Regions from separate parts of the Homo sapiens genome. Here region 2 is linked to region 1. Evidence: promoter capture Hi-C in human tissues and cell types (Jung and others, 2019). All regions are on one chromosome and are shown on one strand. Each heading gives the region's core, a stretch centred on a gene start or on the middle of the fragment in contact. The rest is flanking DNA. Distances are from core to core; before and after follow the strand shown.

Region 1 (2,700 bases), core at 85-2,584:
GCCAGGTCACAGGAATCATCTTGTCCTGGTTGACACTGACAACAAGGATCCAAGAATATCAAAACATTTAAGAGTCGGCCCTGGGGTACCATGGTGGGCACTTAATAAACATATTTCCGTGGCTGGCTAGGATCACCATGTGGATCTACGTGAAGATGGTGTCTGTGTATGGAGTGAATGGAAAATGGAGAGGGAAAAAACCCACAAAAGATTCCTTGGGTGGGGGGAGGGCGCTGGGCCAAAACCTCACGGGGCACCCAGGGTTTCCGGAGGGTGGAAGACGAGGGGATAGTAAGGGAGGGAAAGTAACAGGTAGAAAAAGTTGGAGAAGCCAGGCTTTTAGGTCTTTGTGTATAAATACGCAGCTAGGCAGCTTCAAGAAAAGCTAAAAGAAAAGACTGAGGCAGAAGATCTAGCCACGACGAAAATGACGGCAGGACTCGCCCGCCGATTTCCATTGTAACGCTCCGGGCCACCCTGTGACCTTCGTGGAAGGAAGTTGGAGGATTCTCTCGCTTCCCTGGAAAGGCAACTCCGCGCGGGTTGGGTGAAGAGCGACCCGGCCGGCGGCGGCTATGGCGGGGCATATCAAAGGCTCACATTTCCGCTCTCGAGCCGAGGACCCGGGCCGGGACCGCAGCACCTTCCGGGCCGGGAGTTCAAGGTGAGCCGGGCTCCCGGCGGCCAACAGGTAGGGAGACCTGGGGGAAAGACGGCCCCGGGCCACTCCCCCCGGCACATGTTGGGGGCGAGGCTCGGCCTGGCGGAGCGGCCACTTGCACCCCGCGCGCGGGGCCCGAGCGGATTCGCGCCAGGCTCCGGGCGGCCCCGCGGCCGCTCCCCGCCGGGCCGAACAACCCGCGCACCCCGGCCGGGTTTCCCGGGAGCAGCCCGGGCACCCTCGGCGCCCCAGGCCGCGCGCTGCAGCCGCGCCCCGCCGAGCCCTCCAGGGCCTCGCCAGTCCCCGTGTGCCCCGCTGAGCCCCGCGCACACTCACCCAACGACAGGAGCGCCAGCAGCAGCGGCCTCGAGGCCAGGCGCCCCATGCTCGCCCGGCGGGAGCGACTCTCCCCCTCCTCCTCCTTCCCCGCCGCCTCTCCTCCTCCTCCTCTTCCAGCTCCGGCTGCTCCAGAGTCGGCGCTCCTCCGCCTGGGCCGCGCGCCTGCTCCGCTCTCCTCGCGAGCCGATAAATCCCAGCGCTGGGGCGTACGTGCGCCCCTGGCTCCGCTCGCTCCCTCCCGCCTCCTTCCCTCCCTCCTCCAGCCGGCCGGGCCCGGGAGCCGGCCCCGCCGATCCGAGTGTGCAGCCCCGACCGCTTCCCGAAAGCAGAAGGGAAGAACCGCAGCGCCCGCCCGCGCCTCCCATCCGGCGCTTTGCCAGCAACAAACACAAACTTTCCCAAGCCCCTCCCCGCTCCAGGTAACGGAGGAAGAGCCGGGGCCACCCGCTTAAAGGCGAGGAGGCGTCGGAGCCCACCCTGCCATCCCCTCTGGGCCCCCACCCCACGAGAAACTTTCCTCCGACCTTTAAAAGTTGGCCTGGGAAAGACTCGTCTGGAAATCCCATCGCTTTAGCCCTATCCCGGGACACCCCGCGTTCCATCACGCTGGAGTCACCCACGCGTGTCTAGTCTATCCTCAGCCAACTCCCCGCTCGTTCGGCCTCTCGTCCTGAGCTAAACACCCCACCAACCAGCCGCTTGGCCTATGCCAAAAATTATGCAGATAGGAGCGAAGGAGCTGAAAGGACTTTTAAAGGCCACGGATTCCAACCTCTACCATACAGAGGCCTTAAGTGTTTCGGTGAGGTGCCCAAGGATTCACAGGGAAGGGGCAAAATCAGAACCCCGCTCTCCTGACTCTGCCCACTCCCCGGTGGCTAGGGTGGGCCTGTCTCCTTCCTTACCCAGCTCCCTCCCTCTCCTCGGCGCCTGTGGCACTGATTAGAACAGCACCCCACAAAGACACCCATTTAAAAAACAAACAAAACCCAAGTGTATTAATAGCTATAGTACTTCATATAGAATGTACTCTTAAGACTTAATATTTATTGCTCTAAGTGGACACCACTGATTGCCAATAAAGACTCATTTTTCCCCCTACAATAGAGTTTTGTGCTTTTGATTTGAATACAAAAGGCCCGACTTGGTTGGGAGAAATGGAGCATTCCTTGCTTGAAACTTAGCAAGCATGATTCAAACACGCAAGGAGCAGCACTGGTGCCCACTGCCCGTCACTGGGCTTTCATTCACATGCAAAACGGATCGCAGATGCTTATGCGGAAACTGCCCACACTGGGGAAGAACACTGCTTTTACTCTCATGCATCCGTCTTTCAACCAACAAATGTTTCTTATTTCCCCACTATCAAATGTGTGATTAGCCAGGTATCTTTGGAAAGAGACTTAAAAATTCATTCCTGGTGGTGCAACGTTATTGTACTTAATGCCACTGAATGGTACACTTAGAAATGTTTAAAATTGCCAGGCCTGGTAACTGGTACTTGTAATGCTAGCTACTCAGAAGGCTGAGGTTGGGGGGGCAGGGGGAGGCGGGGGGCAGGGATGGTGTTGCTTGAGGCCAGGAGTTTTTATTTGTTTTGTCTTCTTTCTTTCTTTCATTTTTGAGACAGGGTCTCAAAATGAGGATCTGTCACCCAGGCCGGAGTGCAGTGGTGCGATCAGGGATCACTGCTGCCTTGA
Region 2 (2,700 bases), core at 109-2,608, 37 kb after region 1:
ATCGACTTCTGGGACTTTCACATTTTCTGACTGGTAGTTTTAATTGTGGTTTTCTTGTTCTTACTACATCACTGCATATGTAGTGGGTTATGGGAAAGATAACTAATCTTTTAGTTTATGGTTTGTGCTATGGTTTGAATATGGCTCCTCCAAAATTCATGTTGAAACTTAATCCCCAATGTCATCATAGTAAGGGGTCGGGGGGTAGTCTTCAGCAGGTGACGACATCACGAATGAAATTAGTACCCTTATAAGAGGGCCTGAAGGGAGTCTGGCCCTTTTTTGCCCTCCCACCATGTGACAATTCAGCAATAGGTGCCATCTTCGAGGCAGAGAGCCCTCACCAGACACTAAATTTGCTGGTGCCTTAATCTTCGACTTCCTAACCTCCAGAATTGTAAGAAATAAATTTATATTATTTATAAAGTACACAGTCTAAGGTATTTTGTTATTGCAACCTGAACAGACTAAAACAGCTTGCAAGATTGTGAACATCATATCTGGATTTGAAGACGGAGACTACACTTCACTCAGAGATCTTGACTTTGATCTGGAGGCAGTCCCTGGGTTTCTTCCCCTTGAGGAGGGATTGTGTCCTACATGGGGATGCCCATATATTTGGGGAGGCCAAAGGGATAAACTGTAGCAGAGAGACTGTTTAATTGTCTCACAACATTTGTTTTCTTCTATTTTAAAGTATTAGGACCTTAAATGTTTAGCTAGGCACCTGCTGCTAGAAGGACTGCTTCCCAGTCTTCTTGATTCTCTCCCGGTCATGGGATTAACGTTTGGTTAGTTAGATGTAAGTAGAAGTAGTGTGAGCAACTTCTGGAAAGTGTTCTTAAAGGCAGGGAGCTTTTCCTGCTCTCTACCTTTTTCTTCTTTCTCCTGGATGGAATGGGATATGCGGGATGGAGCTCAAGCATTCATTTTGGACGATAGGATGATTTAGGAAGTGGAGATTATGCAGTTAAGGCAGAAAAATAAAAATAAAAAAAATCTGATTCCCTGCACTGTGGAGCCCTTTACCATCTGTGGACTACCTATTCAGGCTTATATGAAAGAGAAATAAACTTTCATGTTGTTTAAGCCACTGGTTTTTTTTTTTGTTATTGTTTTTTAAGGGAGGTGAAGGTGTTGGGGAGTAGGGAGAGTTCAATATCCTGCTGCCAAACCTAATCCTAACTAATTCATGACAAGTTACTTTTTTGAGTTACTCCAGTTTCCCTGAAATGGGCAGATCTGGGGGCCAAAGACCAAAGTGGTTTAGAGAGACCACAAATTGAAGTAAACATGATGCCATCTTATTCTGTGACATGTCAGTTAGAGGAGAATTCCAAGCTTAGGGAATTTGCATTCTGTCATACCACAATTTATATCATCATCAGTATCTCTAGGAAAAAGGGTTACCTATCTCTCTTTGTACTGAGACACTGGAACTTTAGAAACCCAAATTCATTTATTCCTATGGGTTTTAGCCAAGGAACTTGCCTGCAAAGCTTCCTGATTAGACAACCGTCTGCCAGGTTGGTTTGGGAAAAAGTGCTCAACTGGCACAGAATATCTATGGCTCTGGAAAATGACTAAACTATTCCAAACGGTTTTAAAAGCAAATCCATTTTTAATATCTCAACAACTGTTTCAATTTTGTTCTACCTAGTTTGGTATAAATCTATTTTTAATTTCTAGCTCCTTACAGCCTCAATTGACTTCAGTTTTTATGTGGAAATTTTTATATCTTATTTCTTCCAAATTCTACTTTATTAATTTGATGCAGTTGTAGTCTGCCTCTGATTCCACGTAATTACTTAATCATTTCACTATAATATTGACTCAAAGATTTTGTTATTGGTTACCTAAATATTACTAGTTCCCTTCCATTTCCTCTCTTGCACAATGACAGCGCTTGTTTATAAACCTGCTTTGAAATCACCAAGGGTGAGGAGCAACATCAAGATAAAGTACTGTGTTGTTCTTTCCTTGGAAATATGCCTTGGCTTAAATTTGAACTTGGGGTATAAATTGTAGAAGATTCTGCCAAGAGCGCTCCAGTTCTGATATGTGGCGTTAGTTGAATTTCTGCTTCCAAGCAGGTTATTATGCAACTTGAGGGAGATGGGAAAGAAGGGTCAGGCAGGAAAGGATGGATTTTATTCCCGGGCTATAATACTGTCATCATATTCAGAAATCCACATCTCCTTTTCTCCTTCCTTTTCTGCTGTCTCCTTTCCTTCCTCATTTTCTTTTTTGTAAATTTTCCAGTTACTTCCCTCCCACCATCTCCCCTCCCTTTCTGCCTTCCTTCATCCCACAAGTATTCACTGAATACCCTGGTAGTTAATCTTTAAAGATGGTGCCTCGCCAGGCGCCATGGCTCACGCCTGTAATCCCAGCACTTTGGGAGGCTGAGGTGGGTGGATCATGAGGTCAGGGGTTTGAGACCAGACTGGCCAACGTAGTGAAACCCCATCTCTACTAAAAATACAAAAAATTAGCCGGATGTCGTGGCGAGTGCCTGTAATCCCAGCTACTCGGGAGGCTGAGGCAGGAGACTCGCTTGAACCTGGGAGGTGGAAGTTGCAGTGAACCGAGATCATGCCACTGCACTCCAGCCTGGTGATGGAAAGAGACTCTGTCTCAGAAAAAAAAAAAGAAAAAGAAAAAAGTTGGTGCCCCCAGTGAACTTGGAGGGGTCACATG

The links. Contacts are between HindIII fragments. The study calls those that stand out against the background at their distance.
Region 2: a contact is called between a fragment that was not itself captured here and the fragment with the promoter of PTGFRN in region 1, in 1 of the 25 tissues and cell types used here (aorta).

What each region holds. Positions count from the first base shown.
Region 1 is chr1:116,908,550-116,911,249 of GRCh38, reverse strand. PTGFRN (prostaglandin F2 receptor inhibitor) reads right to left here and starts at 1,334. Exons shown (of 9, transcript NM_020440.4): 1 at 998-1,334. The coding sequence starts at 1,046. The HindIII fragment of the contact is 8,899 bases long and covers 1-2,700 here.
Region 2 is chr1:116,871,259-116,873,958 of GRCh38, reverse strand. No RefSeq gene overlaps it. Among named protein-coding and RNA genes, the nearest start is that of PTGFRN, 37 kb to the left of the region's middle. RefSeq lists an enhancer at 2,638-2,700. The HindIII fragment of the contact is 5,519 bases long and covers 1-2,700 here.